Regions from separate parts of the Homo sapiens genome. Here region 2 is linked to region 1. The links are contacts of gene promoters, found by promoter capture Hi-C in blood cells and fetal thymus (Javierre and others, 2016). All regions are on one chromosome and are shown on one strand. The core of a region is centred on a gene start or on the middle of the fragment in contact, and the rest is flanking DNA. Distances in the headings are between cores, read along the strand shown.

Region 1 (5,634 bases), core at 1,229-3,728:
CCCCAGGGTCTACTCTGGCTTCTCTGATTTCCCTTCTTCTCACTTCCTCTGCCCACAGCTCCAGGCTTTTCTTGGATCTTAATTTAGAGCCAAGAACCTTGTGATTCCTTGAGCACCTACCGCTAGGGAGGGAGTCTGAGGGTAGGGGGAGGGATGGGGAAGTCAATCTGAGCAAGCCAGTGAGTGTGTGTACGTGCAGGGGGGCCCTTCCAGCCCTCCCAGCCCTCCCACCCCTCTGGCAGTGCCAGGCATTTGTCTTATGATTAGCCCCAGGAGTCTGCATCTTCAGGAGAAAGGAATGAAGAGCTGGAGGGATGGAAGGAAAGAGACAGAAAGAGAGAGGTGAGTGGGAGAAAAACTACAGAATATAATTTTTGCTCTTAATGTTTAATCATCCAAGTGCATAGGTGCCCTCTGAAGGGAGGTGGAGTCAGGAAGAAACCACCCCCTCAAATGTGGCTCTCCTGGGTAAAGAATCCTGGGAAAATCGGGATGGTTGGTTTTGAAAGAGAAAGGGTGTGTTCTCAGAGCTGAGGGTGGTGGATCCAGGAGGGGCAGGCTCCCCAGAGGGAGTGAAGATAGGATACCCGTTTCCTGTGGATTCTGGGTCTAAATCTGCCCAATGGGCCAGACGCAGTGGCTCACGCCTGTAATCCTAGCACTTTGGGAAGCCAAGGCGGGTGGATCACCTGAGATCAGGAGTTCGAGACTAGCTTGGCCAACATAGTGAAACCCCGTGTCTACTAAAAATACAAAAATTAGCCGGGGGTAGTGGTGGGCGCCTGCAATCCCAGCTATTCAGAGGGCTGAGGCAGAAGAATCCCTTGAACCTGGGAGGCGGAGGTTGCAGTGAGCTGAGATCACACCATTGCACTCCAGTCTGGGCAACAAGAGCGAGACTCCGACTCAAAAAATAAAATAAATAAATCTGCCCATTGAATCTTCCCAGAGAACAACAAGGGAACAAGATGGGAAAGTCACGGGAAGGGCGTGGGGAAGCAGGCAGTGGGAGAGATGGGAAGGGGTGAAGGGCTGGGAGATGGAAGGCTGGTTAAGAGTGAGAGAGGAGAAATGTGAAGAGGAAGCTGGCCTGGAGTGCAGGGTGAGAGAGAGCAGGCAGTCCTGAAAAAGAGAGAACTGGGAAGAGAGGAGGAGAGTGGGTACAGAAGACTCGAACTGTGGAGGATGCCGAAGGGAGGAAAGGATGAGAGAAAAGGTCAGGGAGGGGAAACGGAGAGGATGAAGGGGTCACAGGTGCAGGGGAAGAAGGGGCAGGAGGAGAAGGAGAGAGCGGTCCAGGCAGGACAGCCAGAGGAGTGGAGAGTAAGGGGATGGGAGAAAAGGGGGGAAAGCCCAGGATGGGGAGAAAGGAAGTGGGGAAGGAGAGAACATAAATGCTTAAGGAAAAATGACACGAGGAACGGGCTGGGAAGCAGAGGCGGGAGCAGCAAAGATGGAGGAGTTCGGAATTGCTCCCCCAAATGTAAAGGGATGTGGAGATACCGAAAGACATAGGGATGGGGGCATGGTGGGAAGAAGGGAGAGAGAGGGGAAAGGAAGAAAGCTAGAGGGAGGGAGCGAGGCGTGTAGAGCGAACCAGTGAAGCGGAGAAGGGCTCCCAGGGCGCATCTGTGGCCAGCTGACTCTAGGACTATCGCCCCTCCGCCTGTGCATCCCCACCCCCAGCCAGCGCCAACCCAGTCCCTGGGCCCCGCACAGCTTCAGCCGCCCCCTCCAGGAAGCCCGCAGTCCCCGGGCTGGCGCGCCACCCCCACCCCTCTCCCAGCTTCTCACCGACCTGTTGTGCGCAGGAGACGAGCTGGGGGTGGGGCAGGAGCCTCGGGGTGCGGGAGCCGGGCCCCAGCCCCAGCGTGGCCCCCATCCCACCCATCCCGCAGGCCCGCACTCCCCGCACAGGGCTGGAGAGCGGCGAGAGTGGGGGGAGACGAGGAAAAGGAGGTCGGCGAAGGGACCCCGAGGCAGGGAGTGCCGAGAGCGGACTGGGGACCCGAAGCAGGAGACTGCGCGGAGCCGCCCGCCGAGCCGAGGCGGGATGGAGGCAGCCGCGGGGACGGGGACGGCTGCGCCAGGGAGGGCGGGAGCGAGCCAGGACCGCGGAGGGATGGAGAGCCCTTCGGGGAAGGGGCGCTGGGAGGCTGGAGGCCTTGTCCCGGGCGAGGGACCGCGTCGGGAGGGGCAGGAGGCGCAGGGCGCGGAGCCGGGAAGGGCAGGGCCGGGCTCCCCGCGGGTGGGGGCGTGGGGGTCCCTCTCACTCACCTGCATGCTTGGCGCGGCGGCGCGACGACTGCGGGCGCTCGGGACTGAGCGGGGCTGGGGGGTCGCAGGAGCGGGCGGGGTGCGGGGCATGGTGGGGAGGTTTGGCCCGCGGCAGGGCGCTGGAGCGGGTGGGGGGCGGGCGCCTGGGGCGCGGGGCGGCGGCGGTGGGAGATGCTCGCCTCGGCTCGGCTCGGCTCGGCTCGGCTGGGCTCGGCGCGGCGGCTGGGACCGCTCCGTCTCCGTCTCCGCCTCCCCCCCGCGCCGGAGGCCACGCACGGTTTAACCCTCCTGCTGCCGCGCTGCAGGAGTCAAGCCAGGCTATGTCCCAGGTGGAGGGCTGAAGAGGCTGGCAGGGTCCAGCGACCGTCCGCTTCCCTGGGTTCTGATGGCAGTCTCCCCACCTCCTTCACCCCAACTCCAGGGACACCCATGGTCGCCTCAGTCAGTTTCTGAGATTCTGAGTCACTCAATGCTCTGCATTCCCAACTTTGTTCTTTTGTATTGTGTTTTGTAGAGATGAGGTCTCGCTGTGTTGCCCAGCCCGGTCTCGAACGCCTGGGCTCAAGCGATCCTTCCCGCTCAGCTTCCCGGAGTGCTGGGATTACAGGCGTGAGTCACCACTGCCTGTCCCCCAACTTGGTTTTGCCCGCTGTAGAAAGTGCCTGAGGTCAAGGCTGGGGGCAAGGGGTGGAGGAAAGGACTGGGGAGGAAGGACCTTGCACCATCTTTGGATTATCCCCACAGCTTGATCCCCTATTTCACTCTGGCCCTGCTACCATGCATTAAGTGGATCACGTCGAAATTCCTGGGCTTTTCCAGCACTGGAATACCTAGACTCCGTGCTGTGACTTACAAGACCCTATATAACCTGGCTCTTAGGTGGCTCTCTGATTGCCTTTCCTAAAGATTTCTATGCTTCAGCCACATGGGACCTGGTGGATTTCCTGGTTGGAGACAGGTTTAACCTGCCTCAGGGCCTTTGCACTTGCTGTTCCCTCAGTAATACATTTCCCTGGCTTTTCACAATGACTTACTGTTTTCATTCCAGTCTCACTTAGATCCAACGCCTTCTGGGAGGCCTTCCCTAATGTCTCTATCAAAAGTAGCCTCTCCTGCCCCTTCTCCCACCACCTGGATCCCATCCCTCTCTACCACACTACGCTGTTTTTCCTCAGGGCACTTCCAGGACACCACACTCTCCTCATTTCCCTCCAACCTCACTGACTGTTCTTAGTCTTCCTCGGGTGACCTCTAAATGTTGGAGCCTCCTAGGGCTTAGTCCTTGGCCATTCTCTCTTTCCACATTCTCTGTCCAGTGATCTCATCCGGTCCCAGGGCTTAAATACTATGTAAATGTCAGTGAGTCCTAAATTTATATCCAGAGCGCCAGACTCATTTATCCGACAGCCTACTTGACATCTCCACTTGGATGTCTAATAGCCATGCAAAGCTAACTTGACTAAAATAGATGTCTTGAATTCCCCCACCCCCAATCCATTTTTCTCCCAGTGATCCCCATCCTGAGGCTTCACAACTACTAGTTGTTCAGGCTAAAAATCTAGGAAACATCCCTCCCTTCCCCTTTTTTTCACTGATTCTCTCCCTGTATCTAATTCACCAACAAGTCCTGTGGGCTCTGCGTCCAAAATATATCCCGAATTCATCTCCTTCTATCTTTATTGCTATAGTCTTGGTCTAAGCCATCATGTCTCATCCAGATTATCATAATAGCTTCCTCACTGGTCCCTGCTTCTGCCCTTGTCTTTACAAACTAGTTTTTCCTATATTGATAATATTTTAAAAATCAAAAGCATGTCATGCTCTTCTCTGCTTAAAATATTCGAGTGGTTTTTCATTACACTTGGAATAAATCTGAACTCCTTGTAAGGAGAAGCCCACCAGCCTGTACCCACCTCATACACAGTGCTCCTGCTGGATCAGACTACTTGCTGTTCTGTAACATCAGAAGTCATTCTCTTAGCATCCCTGCACTTTTTTTTTTTCTCGAGACAGTGTGTCTCTCTGTTGCCCAGGCTGGAGTGCAATGGCACGATCTCAGTTTACTGCAACCTCCGCCTCCCAGGGTCAAGCAATTCTCCTGCCTCAGCTTCCCAAGTAGCTAGCGTGTGCATGCAGGGGGGCCCTTCCAGCCTTCCCAGCCCTCCCACCCCTCTGGCAGTGCCCACTAGTGCCCTGCTAATTTTTGTATTTTTTGTAGAGACAGGGTTTCACCATGTTGGCCAGGCTAGTCTTGAACTCCTGACCTCAAATGATCCACCAGCCTTGGCCTCACGAAGTTCTGAGATTACAGGCGTGAGCCACTGCGCCCGGCCCCTCCACTTTTGATTCCCTCTTCCTGGAATGTTTTGCCACCCCTCTCCCCATCTTCACCTGGTTGGCTCCTTCATCCCTGCTCAAAATCTAAAGTGGCCCCCACTCTGTTTCCTCATTATGTTTCATTGTCTTTCCAACTCATCACTTTCTATTTGTTTATTTATTTATTGAGATGGAGTTTTGCTCTCGCAGCCCAGGCTGGAGTGCGATGGTGCAATCTTGGCTCACCGCAACCTCTGCCTCCTGGGTTCAAGCGATTCTCCTGCCTCAGCCTCCCAAATAGCTGGGATTACAGGTGCACACCACCATGCCTGGCTAATTTTTGTAATTTTAGTGGAGACGGGGTTTCACCATGTTGGCCAGGCTGGTCTCGAACTCCTGACCTCAGGTGATCCTCCCACCTCGGCCTCCCAAAGTGCTGGGATTACAGGCGTGAGCCGCCACGCCTGGCCCGACTCATCACTTTCTGAAATGATCATATATGTGTTTACTATTTACTGTCTGCTCTCTCCTGCCCCCCTATACATTAGAGAGCCAAGATCTTATTTGTCTTGTTTACCGTGTATCCCTACTCCTACTGCAGTGCCTTGGAATGTAGTAGATGCTCAACATGTACCACTTAATGAACTTCTTCTGGGACCCCTGCCCACTCTGAACTCTTTTAATTCTCTCCTCTGCTGTCCTCCAGCCATTCCTCTCTAGCTGCCTGCCCCCTACTGATCTCTGCCCTACGCCAAATGCTTCAGGTTGAGCCCTTGCTCATGTCCACACCCCTTCAGATCCTCCTCCTTCATTTGCTGCATTGTGACCCGTTGTCAGCCTGGCGCTCCTGCCTCGTGAAAGGAAGGAAGCCTGCTGTTCTGACGAGCATCTGCAGCAGCTGCCCTCTTGCTTGCGTGTCCCTGACAGCCCTTCATTTGAGGTCAGAACAGCAGCGAGTGAGCCGTCCTCCTAGTGTCTCCCAGTGGTGGGGGAAAGACAAGGCACACTGGATGTGAACCCGGCCAAGGGGCCATGTGAGTC
Region 2 (5,549 bases), core at 94-2,593, 33 kb before region 1:
ATTTCTATACAATGTTCTAAAAACACCCCTTGGTTTGTACATAAGTTTTTTTCTTTTTTTCTTCATTTTTAAATTACTTTATAACAACTGGTTTCCTGATTTTTTTTTTAATTTCCTTTCCTCTGAAATCTGCCATGATTTAAAAAAAAAAAAAAAAGACAAAAAGAAAAATGCTGTGGCTAGAGGACAGGGGTGGAGAGAGGGAAAAAAAGGACAAAAATAAACAAAACATCAAATATGAAAATTCTCAGAGATAATGCATTTATAAACACAGAAATGGTTACAACAAAGATGGCCGTGATGAGTGAGTATAATATATTTATATATATATATTTATATATAAATCCGTGTCCGGCATCTGACTGTGGCACCTAGGGAGCTAAGTCCAGTCCTTGCGTTTGCCTTGAACTCTCCCTTCTCCGCAACACCCCTGTTTTGGAGTTTCACAGATAACACAAAGCCTCCCACAGCTCCTTGGGGGTGGGTTGGGGAGACTGAGAGTATAGGGTCTTTGTAGGCAGAGAAGGAGAGAGGCTTCAAGGAAATCCGTAAAACCATAACACACACTTCTAAGCCACCTGTGACCAACTTGGGAATTTCTGGCCCCTTGGGGACCACATCTCAGCCCTTGCCCCCTTCAAATAAAAGGAGGTCTAGCCCCTACCCCAAATCTCCTTCTACCAGCAGTCAATAGGAAGCAAAGTGAGACGATGTAGGGGAAGAAATGGCTCTCAGGGACTGAGGCATTTGAGAAACCTCTGTTCTTTTGCAGGCAAGAATAGAACAAGAGGCTGGTTGCATTTGGGGCTCCCTTTTCTCTGTTATCTGGGAGGGCCAGCCTCTAGTCTTACATCAGCCCAAACTTTGAGGATAAGGAGGGTAAGGATAGGGTAAGTGGCCACACTGGACAAGGTTCTATGAGGTCATAGCAAATCCTTCCCTTGAGCACCGACCCCCAGTTTTAGAAGCTTTGCTTGGGAGGGGAGGCTGCTGGATGACACCATCAGCTCAGTATTCCTTTGCAATCAGGAGGGCTGATGTTCCTTTTGAAGAAGAGTTCAGAAAAAGGATGGTATCCTGTGAAGGAAAGCCGTGACAGAGGCCCAAGGAGATGGAGCCAAGGCCTGTCAAGGAAGAAAAGGACTTTTCCCACCAAGAGTTGGAGAAAGAAGACACCAGGACTACTTCTTCCTCTTCCCAGTGGGTGGCAGCACGGATCTCTAAGAGCTGGCCAGGTGCTCCACCTGGATGGTGCTGGTGGTGACAGTGAGGCAGATGTCCTTATGATGCTCCGCCGTCTTATACGGGGTCAGGTCAAAGGAACACTGGGGTGGAGGGTTGGGATTGCTGTCCCCACCACCCCCACCCTGGGGGGCTGCCCCAGGAGACTGGAAGTGTGGTGGTGGCTGTTGCTGCTGCTGCTGCTGCTGCTGCTGCTGCTGCTGCTGCTGCTGTGATGCCTGGGAGGCCTGGGCCTGGGCCTGGGCTTGAGCCTGAGCCTGAGCCTGGGCTTGAGCTTGAGCCTGGGCCTGGGCCACTGCTGCCGCTGCTGCTGCTGCCTGCACCTGTTGCTGAAGATCAGGCGGGTTGTGTTTGCGCATATGTTTCATAAGGTATGTTTCCTGAGGGAGATGGTAAAAAGAAGTTGAGGGATAAAGAGGAAGGAAAAGAGATTACTTGTAACTAGCACCCCAGGCTCTGATTCTGCTGTAAGCAGAGTAAGCTTTATACTGGTTTTCTGGAGCCAAGACTGAGCAAAACTCAAGTAGCACTTTCAGTGGCTCACTACTGAGAAAAAAAAGAGAGGAACCTTTAGAAGTCACTCAACATTCAACTGGCAAAGGAATGAGCTGCTATTTTTTTCAAAGACCCCTGAATGAAACAACTTTACAACCTTTTCTGGAGTCTCATGGAAAATATCTAACTGGGCCAGGTGCGGTGGCTCACACCTGTAATCCCAGTACTTTGGGAGGCTGAGGTAGGTGGATCACTTGAGGTCAGGAGTTTGAGACCAGCCTGGGCAACATGGTGAAACCCCATGTCTACTAAAAATACAAAAAGTTGCTGGGCATGGCAACATGCACCTGTAATCCCACCTACTTGGGAGGCTGAGGCAGGAGAATCGCTTGAACCCAGGAGGTGGAGGTTACAGTGAGCCGAGCCGAGATCACACCACTGCACTCCAGCCTGGGTGACAGGGCGAGACTGTGTCTCAAAAAGAAAAAAAAAAAAAAAAGAAGAAGAAAATGCCTAACTGAAATCCAGCTCCCCTCAAAATTTCAAGTGGCTTTATTTTGCCTTATGTTTAAGTAAAATGAAGAATTACAGCTTATGCGTCTCTATAGGATTAGGAGATCAGGCATCCCCTAAATTCCTCAGAATGGGTCTAATTAATTTCTGAATATTTACCTGTTCTGCTAAGTTGGAGCTAGGGAGGCAGGGTATTCACTGCAACAGATCTCTACCCAGAAAATGGGGTGAAGTGGACTGTACTCTTAGAGGACTATGAGGAAGGAGAGAAGAAACGGAGCACTCACTGATGTGTATGCCCGACTGCAGATAGTGCAGGTGTACACCTTGGCATGCTTCACTGTGTGCGTAGACAGGTGCACCTCTAGTGAGGCTGCATCCGTGTACGCCCGATGACAGTTGTGGCACTTGAAGGGTTTATCTTTGTTGTGTTGCCGTCTGTGGGACTGAGAAAATTGGGAGAAACCAGAATGAATACATTGTACTCTTTCCTCCTGCCCCCTTGACCTCGATGGAAAGCAAAAAGGTAGGTGTCAGGCCTCCCAGCTTCTCCCTCTATCTGAAGAAAGTAGAAATTGTTTCAAATGAAACTTGAGAAGCTACAGGCTAAGGGTGGAAGCATACCTCATGTAGCACATACCAGGATCCCAAGACAGCTTATGCCCGTCTCACCAGTCCAGTGGTTCTTAAAATGAGGCATGGGGATCTTTAGGGAACACTAAGACCTTCACAGGGGGCCCACAGGGTCAAAACTCTTTTTTTTTTTTTTTCCCAGATGAAGTCTCTCACTCTGTCGCTCAGGTTGGAGTGCAGCGGCACAATCTCGGCTCATTGCAACCTCCGCTTCCCGGGTTCAAGCGATTCTCCTGCCTCAGCCTGCAAGTAGCTGGGACTACAGGCACATGCCACCAGGCCTGGCTAATTTTTTTTGTATTTTTAGTAGAGACAAGGTTTCACCGTGTTGGCCAGGCTGGTTTCCAACTCCTGAGCTCAGGTGATCCGCCCGCCTCCGCCGCCCAAAGTGCTGAGATTACAGGTGTGAGCCACCGCGCCCAGCCAAATCTTTTCAAAATAATAAGACAATGTTTGCCTTTGTCTCTCTTGAACCTGGGAAGTTGCAGTAAGCTGAAATCACACCACTGCACTCCAGCCTAGGTGACCCAGCGAGCCTCTGTCTCAAACACGCACACGCGCGCGCGCACACACACACACACACACAAACACAAAGATGAAAAACCTAACTGAAATCTTGTTCCCCTCAAAATTTCAAGTGGCTTCATTGTGCCTTATGTTTTACATGTAACCCTTACAGAGGTTACATGATGTGTGATAACACAATAGGCCAGATGCAGCAGATCTGAGAATCTACTCATCTTCTAGCTTAAGACATTAAAGACCCCTGTGCCAGGTGCGGTGACTCATGCTTGCAATCCTAGCACTTTGGGGAGGCTGAGGCGGGAGGATGGCCTGTGTCCAGGAGTTCGAGACCAGCCTAGGGAAGATAGCAAGACCCCATCTCTACGAAAATGAAAAAAACAGCCAGGTGTGATGGTGCATGCCTAGAATCCCAGCTACTTGGGAGGCTGAGGTGGAAGGATCACTTGAGACCGGGAGGCTGAGGCTGCAGTGGGCCATGATAACACCACTGCACTCAGCCTGGGTGACAGAGCAAGGTCCTGTCCCAAAAATAAAAAATAGACACCTGCAAAAATGTATAATAATGCCATTCTTCTCACTCAGTTGTTTTTGGAGGGTCTTGGAATATGTTATTTATGTTAACACACAATGGGTTTATTTTTGTTCTTTCTAAACAGATTACTATTATAAATATTTTTCAGGTTTTTCAGTTTTACAACGTCTATGTAGACAGCTATTACCCACATAAACAAAAACTCTTTGGGTCCCTCAATAATGTTTGAGTGTAAAGGAGTCCTGAAAACATTTGAGAACCACGATACTATTCAAATGGCCCCATGTCTCAGACTCAAGGTCTTGTGTGGAGGGTGGAACATTTACCTGCAGATTGGAGAGTTGTGTGAAGGCTTTCTCACAGCCTGGGTGTGCACATTTGTATGGTCTATCACCAGTGTGGATTCTGCACAGGATAAGAGAAAAAAGGGAAAGAATGTCAGCAAGACCATTTAGGAACTGGCTCAACAAATCTTCTCCAGGCCCATCCTGCTCTCCTAAGGAGGCACATCAGATGGGCCTCCAAGAGGCACCAGCCTTCCTCTCTGATGTGGATCAGGTACTGATGATTTGCTTCTGGTCAATGCCTGCATCACTCAGCTCAAGCTGAGGCTCCTCTCTGCTGGGGGAGGAGAGACTGAGGACTTGGCACCCAAGGAACAGGCAGCCCACAATTTGGCATTCAAGTCAGCTCCTACAGTAACTGTCCTAACGAACATTCAAGAACACAAGATAAACACAATGGCAAGGAAAAAGAAAAGCAGAACGCGTCTTCCTTGGCCCCACCTTATGGCCAGAAACAGTCCCCTCAGCCTTGAGCATCACTTCCAGAGAATGTTATGGTAACAAAGAAAAGCAGTTACACTGATTGTGGAGAGTAGTAGTGATATTAATGGAAACTCATGAAAACTAAGTGCTTTTTGCAGCCCAGCCCCCTAATGACAGGAAATGCCTAGTTTAGTACCAATGTGACCTCTCTCCCCAACACCACAGGGCCCTCTGCTAAGATGAGCCAAGGACTTGAGGGTGCAGTGACACCTGCTCCTCATCAGCGACTTCAGAACCATCTCTATGACCAGGTGCTTTTCGGGACCTCTGGTATAAAATCTCAAAAACATCACAGGACGTGTCTCTTATTTGTGAGGAAAGCCTGACTCCTCCTCTTCTCAAAGCAAGATGTCTGATCACTTTAAGGTGAGATCATCACATCCACAAGAAGCCGGGTGAGACGGTCTATGGCCTGTAAGTCTGGACTCCAGTTCAACTTGAGATAGCACCAAAGATCATCACTTCTAGTTGGCAGGTTCCCTTCTTCCTAGTCACTCCAGATTCACGGGATAAACACTGGGCATCTTTATGAAGCATAAGCGTTTTCATTTTCTGTTTGCTGATTCTCTCTGAACATTTAGTACGTGTTTTCTTTTGTTCTCTACTCCTGGCATCCCTCAGAGCCTTGCTTGTTGCTGTGGGTGTCACCAGGCTGGTGCCCAGCTAATGTCTGATTTTATTTCCTGTTCATAATTGGTGCCCTAAGGGCTAGAGGTATGGTCTTCTCCACTCAAATGCCTCTGTTTTGGCATCAAGGGGCAAATCTTCCAAGATGGGTACAT

What was found. Contacts are between HindIII fragments. The CHiCAGO score rates a contact against its expected background, and 5 or more counts as called.
Region 2: a fragment that was not itself captured here is called in contact with the fragment with the promoter of PIANP in region 1 in 4 of 17 cell types (activated CD4 T cells, endothelial precursors, naive CD4 T cells and 1 more); the score reaches 6.1 in activated CD4 T cells.

What each region holds. Positions count from the first base shown.
Region 1 is chr12:6,698,337-6,703,970 of GRCh38, forward strand. PIANP (PILR alpha associated neural protein) reads right to left here and starts at 2,479. Exons shown (of 5, transcript NM_001244014.2): 1 at 2,278-2,479. RefSeq lists an enhancer at 1,259-1,760. The HindIII fragment of the contact is 12,862 bases long and covers 1-5,634 here.
Region 2 is chr12:6,666,494-6,672,042 of GRCh38, forward strand. ZNF384 (zinc finger protein 384) reads right to left here. Exons shown (of 12, transcript NM_001385745.1): 10 at 4,267-4,345; 11 at 2,538-2,696; 12 at 1-1,622. The coding sequence ends at 1,221. Among named protein-coding and RNA genes, the nearest start is that of ING4, 6.1 kb to the left of the region's middle. The HindIII fragment of the contact is 755 bases long and covers 967-1,721 here.